Regions from separate parts of the Homo sapiens genome. Here region 1 is linked to region 2. Evidence: promoter capture Hi-C in 16 types of primary human blood cells and fetal thymus (Javierre and others, 2016). All regions are on one chromosome and are shown on one strand. Each heading gives the region's core, a stretch centred on a gene start or on the middle of the fragment in contact. The rest is flanking DNA. Distances are from core to core; before and after follow the strand shown.

Region 1 (6,885 bases), core at 3,518-6,017, 120 kb before region 2:
AACCCGGGAGGCGGAGCTTACAGTGAGCCGAGATCCCGCCACTGCACTCCAGCCTGGGCGACAGAGCGAGACTCCGTCTCAAAAAAAAAAAAAAAAAAAAAAAAATTAGCCAGGTGTGGTGGCAGGTGCCTGTAGTCCCAGCTACTCGGGAGGCTGAGGCAGGAGAATGGTGTGAACCCAGAAGGCAGAGCTTGCCGTGAGCCGAGATCGCACCACTGCACTCCAGCCTGGGCAGCAGAGGGAAACTCTGTCACAAAAAAAAAAAAAAAAAAAAAAAGAAAGAAAAAACTTGAGGCTGGGTAATTTACAAATAAAAGAGGTTTAATTGGCTCACAGTCCACAGGCTGTGTAGGAAGCACTGCTGAGAGAGCCTCAGAAAACTTTCAGTCATGGTGGAAGGCAAAGGGGACACAAATCCAAACCATATCACTTTGAGAGGCATGATAGAAGTAGACCTTACCAATGGGGCATGAAAACTATACCTTTAGCTTCCAAGAATCTGGTCCAGAGAAATAGTATTGGAATAATATAGACAAAAAACCAACAAAATCTAACACCTAGGTTATTCTTTCCTGCAGGGAGCCAAAACAGTGTAGATGAAACTTACAGATTCTGGGACTTATTCACATTTTCCACCTAACTGGGGACAGAGTAACCTTGGGGATATCAGGTGTAGTTGTAAACAAAAAAAAAATGTGGCCAATATAAGCACTGAAAAGATGAATCCTGTTGTGAGGAATATAGCAATTTCTCCTATATCTGACTGCATTATGGGTAAGGATATTCTACGTCAATGGGAAGACCAGCCATTACCCCGCCCCGAGATCAGTGGGGTATAGAAAACCCTTGGTCAGGTGCAATGGCTCACGCCTGTAATGCGAGCACTTTGGGAGGCCGAGGCAGGCAGATCATTTGAGGTCAGGAGTTTGAGACCAGCCTGGCCAACATGGTGAAACCCTGTCTCTACTAAAAATGCAAAAATTAGGCAGGTGTGGTGGCACGTGCCTGTAATCCCAGCTACTTGGGAGGCTGAGGCAGGAGAATCGCTTGAACCCAGGAGGCAGAGGTTGCAGTGAGCTGAGATTGCACCACCGCACTCCAGTCTGGGCTACAGAGTGAGACTCTGTCTCAAAAAAAAAGAAAAAAAAGAAGACTCACCTTCTTTACAATTTTTAATTTAATTTTTATTGAAGAATATTTTACATGCAAAAAAGCACATCGTCTCAAATGCAGAGCTAGTTGACTTTTCACACACTGAACATACCCATGTAACATCACCCAGATGAAGAAACAAAACATTACCAGGACTTCCAAAGCCTTCCTCATACCCCCATCCCGGGGGAAATTGCTATTTTGACTTAAACACTATGAATTACTTTTGCCTGTTTTTATACATTACATACATGAAACAAAACAGTATGTACATCTTTTGTATCTGGCATCTTTCACTAAACACTTTCTGTTTTGAAATTCATCTGTATAATCATTCATTTCATTGTTGCGGTATATTTCGTCATATGATGTATCACCATTAATTTATCCTCTACTACTCATGAGCATTTTGATCATTTCAAGTTTGGGGTTATTGTAAATAGGGCTGCTATAAACATTCTAGCACATGTCCATAGGTGAATAGATACGGATGCATTTTTGAGAGGTAATCTCTAGGGGTAGAATTGCTGGATCATAGAGTAGACATATGTTCAGCTTAGTTGCCAAAGAATTTTGTAAGGCAGTTGGACCAATTTATACTTTCACCAGCAGGTTTTCAGAGTTACGGTTGGAATACATTTTTACTAATACTTGATATTTTATCATTTTAGCTATTCTTCTGAGTATGAATTCTGAAATTGTACTTTGTGTTTGATTTTAATTTACCTAATGACTAATGAAGTTAACCAAGTTTTCTTATGTCTATAAACCAATTGGATATCATTTTTTGTGAAGGTTCTTCAGGTCTTTTTCCATTCTCTTGGTGGGTTGATTATCTTTTTAAATTTATTTGTAAAAGTTCTTTATATTTGGGGGGCACAAGCCCTTAGTTTGACATGAGCTTTGCAAATAGTGCTTTCCAGATTGTAGCTTGCCTTTCACTCTCTTACTGGTGTCCATATCAGTGTTCTAGGGCTGCCATGACAAAATATCAAAGACTAGGGGGATTAAACAACAGAGTTTTGGTTTTTCTTATTCTCACAGTTCTGGGGCAGGGAGTCTGGGATCAAGGTATGAGCATGCTTGTTTTCTTCCGAGCCTCTCTCCTTGGCTTGCAGATGGCCAAGCCATCTTGAATGGCTTGAATAACTTTCAAGCTTGTTATTATTGGGTGAAAGGGATATCAAACAAAACCAAATATCCCTTAAGTATAAAGTGGAAACAAGAAGTTACTCTAGAGAAATACTAGTAATCAGAATGGAGGAGACTCAGAAGAAGATGGCATATTTGATCTGATACAGGTCAGGAAGAGTAGGAAATGAAAATGTAGGGTAAAGATATTTCAGATAAAGGATGCAAGTATGTGTTTTTTGAGGACAACATATACAATAAAGTAGAAAAGTAAGTTAATCTGAGAAACATCAGAAAATGACTTACAGAGAGCCCTAATTTTTCATTACTCAGAAATCAAAGTAAAAACAAAGATAATTTGATTTTTGATAGGTAATTATTTATTCAGCCAGTCCACCAAATCCAGGAAAGCAGGAACTTAAACTGAACTAAGACAAAAATTATGAATTGTTTCATGTGATCGGTGCCACTAAGAATATTAGTGAATTCTCCTAAACACAGATATTTTTCCCCAGTAAATAATAGTACTTGAGAAACACAGAATTGCTAAAGAGAGAAATATAACTGCTTCTCTGTTTTGTGGGGAAAGGGAAGGAAAATCCTTCCTAACTGGTTTCTAACTGGCATTGTTCGTCTTCAAGTCTCACACGTGTTCCAGTCGTTTAATCTCCAGAGACAGCTTTTACACCTCCAGGGTCATTTTCGAATCCTCTGGGTGTGGGAGACACTGCATGAGCTTTCTACCCGTGAGCACTTGCTCACAACCTTCAGAGATTACCTAAATGAAATAAAGCGATAGTTTTTGAGAGGCTTCTCTCCAAATGAAATCCGAATATGTAAGATTTCTTCTGGATGTATCACTGATGACCACAAAACCGGAATGTCAAAACCCTCCTCAGGACAGATGAATAAAATCCCAAAGAAACTAGGGTCTCAGCAAAGTATTCTCCCTCGGCCGTCAGGCAGCAATCAGTAGCTGGTGAAGCAGGGAAGGAACAACGCTGCAGACAACACCCAGGGGGCCTCGTTAGGGGCGACAGAAGGGACAATTCTGATGGGCCCATCTGAAATGAAGCAAAAGCATAGCATTTATTATAGAAAGTATGAGGCTGGGGGTCAAGTCAGCTGGATCTATGAGACCTTCCTATCTAGGGGTGTGGTCCTTCTTGAGCTTACCTTAACAAGTACACCAAAGTGCTTCAAAGGTGACGGTGCTAATTCTGTAAGTGATGTGCCCGAAATAAATCTTGCCAAAAGTCAGATCTCGCTGGTGTTGGCTAGGACAGTGCTCTGGAGGAGACTATCATTTTTAGAATGGGATAGGATGCCCTGAAATGTGTGCCACTTACCCACTCACAACTGGGCACCTCTGGGTGCCTGCCATGTTCTGTGCTCTGATCAAGTGATATTTTGAGGACCAACCAAAGTGATATTTTGAGGACCAACCACTTTATAGCCAGAGTCACACTGGATGGTGACATTTTCAAGTTCAACATACAGATCCTTACCCAGACAGCTTTCCATTTTCTGTCTCTGGTTTCAGACACAGAGCTATAATGGAAACACAATTTTGATCATCCTATGATTCTCAGAATAAGATCTTATAATAGTAAGAATATTGAGAGTTATGAAACATTGATAAATTATACCTGGATGGGATGCTGAGAGTTGTTCTTTACCTCCATTTATTTATGATTATAACAATAAGATTAATAATAATGCTAATAATGTTATTGCACATACTATATGTCAATGTAAGTACTAATGCAAAACATTATTACCTCCATTTTGCTAAAGAGAAAAATTAGGTACAGATAGTTTGTGTGACTTGTCTAATATTGCATAGCCTTTGGGTGGCATGATTATGATGTAAACCTAGTCACTGCGGTCCTAGAGTCAGAGTTTTCAAAATTAGTACAGTATTTCCAAACCTTGATCTTTTCATGGTCCTAAGTATATAATTTTTATTCTCATATTCTTAATATCTTGCTGTGTTAAATGGAGACAGTGTGGGGAATTAGCTCCTTGAGTTGCTATTAATAGATTAGTTAAAAAAAAAAAAAAAGGTTGACCCTATCCTTGTGGTTGACCAAAAATCTCCTATCAGGTCAACTTCATTATGAGAAGGTGGGAGCATGCATGGTTTCTAATGGAGACATCGAATACTTCAAAGATGTTGGGAATTTACCCACAGGATTCCTCATTTAAACTTAAGTAGATGCCCACTAAAATTTTGCCAAATCCTCACTGATACTCTCAAATTAAAAATTGTATCTCTAAGTCCACTAACAGAACCCTGTATATACAGACACTTGAATTATAACAAAGGTCACACTGCAGAGTTGTGTGGAAAGTATAGTTTATTAAATAAGTGCTATATGATTAATTGAACAGCCGTTGGAGAAAAACAAATTTTAACCACTACTTTCCACCATAAACACACAGGAATTCCAAGTGATTTGGAGATACTAATGTGAAAAGTTAAAACAATAAAGCTCTGGAAAATAACATAAGGAAATATTTTTTGTGACCTTGCTGTAGGCAAATATTTCTTAAACAGGATATGAAAGGTGCCAACATCAAGGAAAAAAATTATAAATAGAACTAAATTAGAATTTAGAACTTCTATTTATCAAAATTAGAACACTCATACACTGCTTGTGGAAATTTAAATTGTTGCAATCACCGTTGAACAAAATTTGGCATTATCTACTAAAGATGAATATATGGCTGGGTGTGGTGGCTCACAGCTGTAATCCCACACTTTGGGAGGACAAGGCAGGTAAAGGAGGATCACTTGAGCCCAGGAGTTCAAGACCAGCCTGGGCAACAAAGAAAGGCCCTATCTCTACAAAACACTTTTTAAAAATTAGCCAGGTATGGTGGTGTATGCCTGTAGTCCCAGCTACTCAGGAGGCTGAGGCAGGAAGATCCCTTGAACCCAGGAGTTGGAGGTTACAGTGAGCTATAATCATGCCACTACACTTCAGCCTGGGTGACAAAATGAGAACTTGTCTCAAAAAAAAAAAAAAAAAAAAAAAGAGATGAATAGATGCATACTCTATGAAATAGCAATTCCACTTTTAAGTTTATTCCCAACATAAATATTTGCACATTTGTATCAAGAGTCATGTGCAAGAATGTTCATAAGAGCATTGTTCATAATAGCCTATAACATGAAAATCCTAAACTTTTATAAGATACATAAAATGTGTTATGTTTATCCAAAGATTATACAACAATGAAAATGAATAAGCTATCACCCCATGCAAGAACACATAGATGATTTTCAAAAACATAATACTGAGTAAAGAAGGCAGGCACAAAAGAATACATACATGATTTCCTTTATATTCAAAGTAATGGCAAAAACCGCAGTGACTTTTGCACCAATCTAAATATAATGCTAAAAAGTTGATAAAACTAATCTGTGATGCTAGAGGTGAGACTAATTGGGAAGGAAAGTTGGGGAGTCACTAGGAGAGGGCACACGGAACACTTCTGGGATGCTGGTAGTGGTGATGCTTCTTGACTTGAGTGGTAGTTTGTCATGGTGGGTTCACTTTGTGATAATTTATTGACCTGTACACCTAAGATTTGGACACAGTGTTGTAGTATGTTATATTTAAATCAAAACTTTTATTCAAGCAAAAAGTGGCCTTCCAGATGACCTCTGAAAGATACATTGATAACAGTAGTGTTCAAGAGTGATAAACTGTGATCATTCATGCTATTAAAATATTGTACCATGTGTATATATTAATTATGCAAATTAAATAAATAAGTAAAGTGTAAATTTCTAAGTGCTGCCTCTGTCTAGGAGGAGACTCTTGTTTGACCTTTCATAGAGGCTCTACCTTCTTAGCAAGGGCCCTCAGTAAGTTTGGAGTTAACCTTTACATTGAGGGGCTGGAGCTGACCAATGTGAATTTCTGCAGGTGACTTCAGCCTCTCCAATTAGAACATATCCATCATCACAGTGACAGTGCACCAGAGTAGTAGAGAATAAAAAATGATCTCACATCTTCATAGGACCCATGGCCAATGGGAGGAACCATTCTGCAAACTTGAATGGTGAGAGAGAAGGTAGAGGAGAATGAGCTAGAGTTTCATTTAATGAACAATTCAGTGAGCGACCCTTCTCGTTATGCAGAACTAGGTCATTAACTTATTGTACTGCTGATGTACATTTCGTCTCCTTGACAAAATCAGTAAACTTTTACACTGTTCATGAACTTCTGGGTACAAAAGCATTAATTTAGCCACAGGGAGTTACTCCAAAACAGAATCATATTCAGTAATCATGAGGTTAAATAAAAAGAAAGGCCACAAATTAATTTTCAAAAAGCAGACAGTGCAATTTAAAAACAGCTGAGAGACTTGAATAGATGTTCCTATAGAGGGGCTATACAGATTGTCAACAGACATATTAATAGGTGCTTAATCACATGGGTCATCAGGAAATACAAATAAAAGCCACAATGAGAAATCACTACACACTCACCAGAATGTCTACAATTGAAAACTATGATAATACCAAAGTTTTCATGAGTAGGACACAATGGAACTCCAATGAACTACCTAAGGAAATATAAATTGGTA
Region 2 (6,755 bases), core at 4,049-6,548:
GAACCGAGTCCCATGGACAAAACACTCAGTTCCTCTAAGCCTCAGTTTCCTTTATTATAAAATAAGAAGGATAACTGTAATTATATCTCGGAATTTCTGAGAGGGGCTTGGCATGGTGTGTGGACAGCACATAGTAAACATTCAAAAGAAATTATAGGGAAGAGTTTCATAGAATTGGCATTGGAATGTCACTCTGTCAGAAGCCAAACTCCTGGATGTCAAAACATTGTCATCATAATGATTTAAAATTGCAATAAATGGTTGCATCACCAGGGACTTTAATTACACCCCAGTGCAGAGGAGCATCCACTGAACTTCCGGCTAGAAGCCCTGGATCTGGTCTCCACTGTGGCCTTTGGTACAGTGAGATCTAATGTGTCATGCACAGCAGAGGAATGCTGGGGCCTCTGGGGCTGTCCTGGGGCTTTGTCTTCCCTTGCCCTCAACTATCTTCCTGAAAGGAAGTCATCCACATCCATAACTTTAATCATCATACCTGAATCACCCACAGGTCAGACGCGGTAGCTCACGCCTGTAATCCCAGCACTTTGGGAGGCTGAGGCGGGCAGATCACGAGGTCAGGAGTTCAAGACCGGCCTGACTAACATGGTGAAACCCCGTCTCTACTAAAAATACAAAAATTAGCTGGGTGTGGTGGTGCACGCCTGTAATCCCAGCTACTCAGGAGGCTGAGGCAGGTTAATCGCTTGAACCCGGGAGGCAAAGGTTACAGTGATCCGAGATCACACCACTGCACTCCAGCCTGGGCGACAGAGAGACTCCGTCTCAAAAATAAATAAATAAATAAAATGAATCACCCACAGACCTCTGGGCCTAATTGTCTCTGGTTCATGCAAAAACTTCCATGCTCCATAAATTCAATTGTTAATAATTATTTTATTCTGTCTTATTCCTTCCTCCGTGTAAGTTTTAAGCTATTCAGGCTTGTCTTCTTTACTCTGGTTGCTAACTAGTTAAATTCTGGTGCTCAAATTACGTCTTTCTAAAGGCAATGAAATAAATCTCTGTAAAATAAGGAGGAACTCTTTTCCTCTGCAGCTGCAAAAAAGCAGATGATAATCTACGTGACAAAACTGACCTTGCAAATGTTTTTTCTAACAAAGGAGTCGTTCCTGGATTTTAGAGATTGCTCTGCCACATGACAGTAATTTTAACCTCAGAAAAGTGTAATTCTGACTGGTTATCTTAGTGAATTTTTTTTTCTGGAATAATATTTAAATAAACATTTCTGTTTACTGAAAGTTATAAGTGCTTGTGAGTTTTCCTTGCCAAATCCAGAAATAATTATTACACTTTCCTCTTTATCTGCAAACTTGAAAGTAAACTAAAACTTTTTGACTCTGTTAGATTTCTCATTTAAGCAAATAATAATAATAATAATAATTTAAGTTAAAATTCCCAAGGTTCAAATCAATATTTCCAATCACTTCATTTGTATCTCCCAGGCACCTTGAATTTAACATGTTTCAAACTAAATTCACTATGTTCCTCCAACACTACTTAATATCTGTGCTTTCTGTCTCAGTGAAGGTGACAATCTCCACCCAGCCTCCCAGACTAGAAATCCAAGTCATTATTGCCTCCTCTGTCTCACCTCCTTGCACTATTCAGAGTCGTCAAGTCCTATCAAGTTGGTCATAGCAGCTGCACCAGAATCTGCCACTCTCTCCAACACTCCACTTCCATAGTCCAGGTTTAGGTTCCTATAATTCCCTTCCCCTCACCCTAGACCACTGCAAAAGCCTTCAAACATTTATAAGCCAGCTTCCATGTTGATGCCATTATGTCCCTAAAAAGCAATTTATGTGTTGTTACTCTGCTTAAAAACATTCATGGTTCCCAGTTTCCATAGGTTCCCCTATCTGTCCCAGTTTTCCCATCATTTCTCACTTAGAACACCATGCTTCAGTCTCAAGGAGGCACTTACCCTTCCCCAAAAACATTCTGGATTTCTTTTTTGAGACAGGGTCTCACTCTGTGTCACCCAAGCTGGAGTGAAGTGGTGCAATCACAGCTCACTGCAGCCTCAACCTCCTGGACTCGAATGATGCTCCCACCTCAGTCTCCCCAGTAGCTGGGACCACAGGAGCGTGCCATCACACCCAGCTAATTTTTTAATTTTTTGTAAAGACAGGGGTCTCACTATGTTGCTCAAGCTGGTCTTGAACTCCTGGCCTCAAGTGAACCTCCCACCTCGGCCTCCCAAAGTGCTGGAATTATAGGCGTGAGCCACCATACAAAGCCAGGATTTTTTTAAAAAACACCTGCAAGCATTTGCAGTTAATGTCTCCCATGCATTAATGCTCTTACCTCCAACTTCTCCTTTACTCACTATTCCTTTACTCACTATTCAGATCAAATGTCACCTCCTTGGTGAAGCATTGCCTGACTTCATCATGAAATGCCAGTGTTTTCTGTTCTTCTAGTACTTGGCTAATACCTTAATTGTAGCATTGTTTTGTATCCTAACTATCTATTTGCTTTTGCCTCCCGAAATACATTGTGAATTCCTTGAAGACAAGGAAGGTGTTTATTCAACTTTCCATCTCTAACGTGGTATTGTAATTGGTCTATATAACCCCGTGACTCCTTTGTTAAAAAAAAACATTTGCAAGGTCAGTTTTATCACGCAGATTATCATCTGCTTTTTTGCAGATGCAGAGGAAGAGAAAAGAGTTCCTCCTTATTTCGCAGAGATTTCTTTCACTGCCTTTAGAAAGACCTAATTTGAGCACCAGAATTTAACTAGCTTAAAACTTACACAGAGGAGGCCGGGTGCAGTGGCTCACGCCTGTAATCCCAGCACTTTGGGAGGCCAAGGCAGGCAGATCACGAGGTCAGGAAGTCGAGACCATCCTGGCTAACACGGTGAAACCCTGTCTCTACTAAAAAGACAAAAAATTAGCTGGGCGTGGTGGCGGGCGCCTGTAGTCCCAGCTACTCGGGAGGCTGAGGCAGGAGAATGGCCTGTGAACCCGGGAGACGGAGCTTGCAGTGAGCAGAGATTGCACCACCGCACTCCAGTCTGGGCAACAAAGCGAGACTCCGTTTCAAAAAAAAAAAAAAAACTTACACGGAGGAAGGAATAAGACAGAATAAACAATAATAAATCTAAAAGGAATGAAAGTCAATTTAATTTTATCTTTAGAATGAGAATGACTGTCTCACTGAGGACCAAATGAAATAATGTGTGTGAAATGCTTTGTCAGTTTTGAAGAGAGATAATACAGTGACTAGACTTCCCTAACAAACCATCAGGATGCATCCTAACTCTTCTCCAACTACGGCATTTGCAGTTCACCATAACTACTCCTGGTGGTCCCTCAGCAGAAACCAGCTGGCCACAGAGTATGGGAATGGAGGCTAGAACTTGCGAGCTGAGAAGACACAAGTTGGAGTTCCAGCAATACCACAGTCTAAGTCTGTGATCTTGAAGAAGCTATATCAGCTTCTTGGATATCAGTTCCCTCCATCTCTAAAATAATGACATTAAACCTAGATGAACAAATTCTGCAATTCTGTAACTGCTCACTGAAAAGCTGAGACTACTCTAGCCAACTTTCATATTTCAAGGACTTCACCTTTTAAATTCCTGCAGAAATGGAACCAACTCAAGAACTTTAGTCAGCATGGCGGGTCCCTTGTGAAAAATAATATCAGCACTTAGCAATGCAGTGCAATTTGAGAGTCACTGGAAAAATCTTTAGTCCTCAAATTTCTCCTTCCATGAGAAGTTACTTTTTAAGTTAATATTTATTTTGTCTAACTTCCCCCTTTTAAAATGCAGATACCTTGTGAAAGGATAGTATTTTTCTCCAGTCTCGGGCTGAGTGTCTTCTTCCTTATACCTGGGCTCTCAATTATATCACTTACAAACTCCAGAAAGAACTGGCTCCCACACTTTCCCCACCCTTCCTAGAATCTCTTTTTTTTTTCTTTTTTTTTTTTTTTTGAGGTGGAGTTTCACTCTTGTTGCCCAGACTAGAGTGCAATGGCACGATCTCAGCTCACCCCAACCTCTGCCTCCCTGGTTCAAATGATCCTCCTGCCTCAGCCTCCCAAGTAGCTGGGATTACAGACATGTGCCACCATGCCTGGCTAATTTTGTAATTTTAGTAGAGACAGGGGTTCTCCATGTTGGTCAGGCTGGTCTCGAACTCCCGACCTCAGGTGATCCGCCAGCCTCGGCCTCCCAAAGTGCTGGGATTACAGGAGTGAGCCACCGTACCTGGCCAAATCTCTTTATTTTTCTATCAGCCCCTTTATTCTGTGCTCATACTACATTCAAACATATCTCTAAGCTTAATGCCAACCTTCTTTGATGCTTCTGCCTCTTCTGTAGTCTACTTTTTATTCTTTTGGTGTTACCATATTTAGAGATAGAATAGGAATCAGCAAAGAGACAAGTGGTTGAAGAATTAAAATGAGGACCAGAATGGTACTGTATCCTGGCCAACCAAGGAAGAAGAGAATTTCAAGAAGGAAGGGTTATCAGCATCGTCAAATTCAGAAAGTAAAGAAGATGAGGACGACTAAGACTGCTAGCTTCAGAAACCAACTGGAGGCTGGCCAGTGTCCTCCTTATTACCAAATCTAAACATCTTTGCTGTCAGTGGTGGAGGAGATTTGGAGTGGTTAATCAAATCTCAAAATAGAAATGGCCCCAGTTTTCAGAATGTAGACTAAGAAAAGCAAGCTTCCTGTGAACCCTTTGAAAAGTCTGATTGACCCCTTGCCTCAACTCTGATGTGGGAAGGTGGTGAAAGATCAACAAACCAACACATCTGTCTTTTAGATACAGTAACAAGAGCAACACCTTACACCTCTTCTTCTTTAGCTTATTTTATTAGAATGCAATATTATTCCTCCATTTATAATTTTTAAAACTTGAGGTTCAGATAGGGTTTAAAGTACGTCTCAAGTCTTACATCCCCCTAATACAGTGCTCCTGAAAAGATTTCTGCTGAAAACACCTCCAAGCTTTTGTCTCTGTTTTATCCTTCTAATCCTGCACTCCTTAAAGGGCCAAACCACCAGCCTTTCCTCCAAGCTTCCCCAAGGGTTTAGTAGTCCACCGACCTTTGGTAGTTGAGGAAGAGCAGAAGACTCTATGATGATATCTGGGATAGTTTCTCAAAGAAGAAAACTGCCTTGATCTATGTAGTCCTGGTTCCTCCCCAGATCAGAGTTTATCATAATACCCTGAAGTTGACTGGTAATTGCTCCACCAAAGAGTCCCTGAATTTCAGCCATGTGGTTGGCTGGTCAAGGACGGTTGATGGAAATAGATGGGCAGAAACTTTTGACGGGCCCAATGAATGATTAACAGCAGAAATAAAGCAGCACTGTTTACCTAAGCTCCTTCCTCTTTGCTAGTCCTCATTCTTCGTAACATGTCGCAATCGTTTATTTTCTCCTCTGCCAACCATTTCCCCTAAGTGGAAAGGTAATTTGAATTTGAAGCCAGAATTCTTTTTTCTTTTCATAAACACATAAGGGTTATGGCAAGACACAGTCCAGCTAGCCTGGAAACCTTGGATACTGCGAGGTTCAGAGAGCCTCCGCAAAAATGATCCACTTTCCATGACACTAGGTCCAGTATGCTTTCCTGGAGTTTGAAAACTGATATTCTTGCCCAGAGCTCGTCTCTATCCCACCCCAAGGAATTACAAAAGGTGGGGAATTTATCAAACATGCATTGGGTTTCCACTATGTGCTGAGTTATCTAGAACGTATTTGGAGTTCAGCAAATGTTAACTGCTACTACATGTCAGGCACCAGAGGGCCTCCAAAAATTGATCTATCCAGTGCGCTCAGAAGAACGCAATGAAGGACCGGCCATGTTTCCTCTCGCATAGATCTAAAAAGACCACAAGCACTTACATAGTCCAATTAAGCTACTAATCCTCAAGGTTAAGATTTGTGTGCTCAGAAGATTGCTATTAAAAGGCAATTCTTTCTGAGAACTTCACTTTTTCTGTAATAAATACTGAAAGTCCCAGAAGAGTTTCAGAAAAGGAACTAAACTACAACAGGTTGAGTTAATCAAGGAAGTTTCTACAGAAGATGTGAGATTTGGATAAAAGGTAGAAATTATTAGATAAAAGTGGTAAGGATATTAGATGTAAAGAAACCATGCGCTAGGTCACCAAGGTGAGACACTGATTTGACCAGAATGAAGATAGAGGAGGATTCCAGATTGCACAGTCTTGAGACTAAATTGGAAGAAATATCACCTTTAAAGCTGCTATTTCTTTAAAGTACCGTTTTCCAATGTATTGAAGTCCTTTCGTTTACTTTCCACAGTGACTCTTGCAGATTTTTCTCTCCAGGTCACCAAATTGTCACATTCCCTCTCAGCAGATGCTCTTACCTCCTACTTTACTAAAAATCATTCTACCTTAGCTTCATCAATGTCAAATTTTCCCTCCTATTCACTCCTCATTCCGAGGAGAATTGTTTCTTCTTTTCCTGCCTCATTTTCAATGCATCTCTCATCCTGAAATGTCCCTTCAATTTTGCCAATACCTCAAATTCCACCTTTCTTCTTTAGTGTGATGCTGAACTTCTCAAAGGTGTGACTTGTTCTACCTGCCTGTTCTTTCTCATTCATCACTCCACCTGTTGCTTTCCCATCTGGCTTCTACCACTCTTCTACTGACATGTCTCTCTGAGGCACGCCCTTAGGTCCAAGTCCAAAATATCTTTAATTCATTTCTTAGGATCTGTCTGCA

Evidence for each region. The method cuts DNA at HindIII sites, captures the fragments that hold promoters and counts their contacts. A CHiCAGO score of 5 or more calls a contact.
Region 1: a fragment that was not itself captured here is called in contact with the fragment with the promoter of C4BPA in region 2 in 5 of 17 cell types (M2 macrophages, neutrophils, monocytes and 2 more); the score reaches 7.3 in M2 macrophages.

What each region holds. Positions count from the first base shown.
Region 1 is chr1:207,225,250-207,232,134 of GRCh38, reverse strand. All of the region lies in intron 1 of LOC107985251 (a long non-coding RNA gene), which reads left to right. It also overlaps the pseudogene C4BPAP2. Among named protein-coding and RNA genes, the nearest start is that of LINC02942, 11 kb to the left of the region's middle. The HindIII fragment of the contact is 4,911 bases long and covers 2,312-6,885 here.
Region 2 is chr1:207,102,776-207,109,530 of GRCh38, reverse strand. It overlaps C4BPA (complement component 4 binding protein alpha), which reads right to left and starts at 5,298. Exons shown (of 12, transcript NM_000715.4): 1 at 5,101-5,298. The HindIII fragment of the contact is 2,080 bases long and covers 5,074-6,755 here.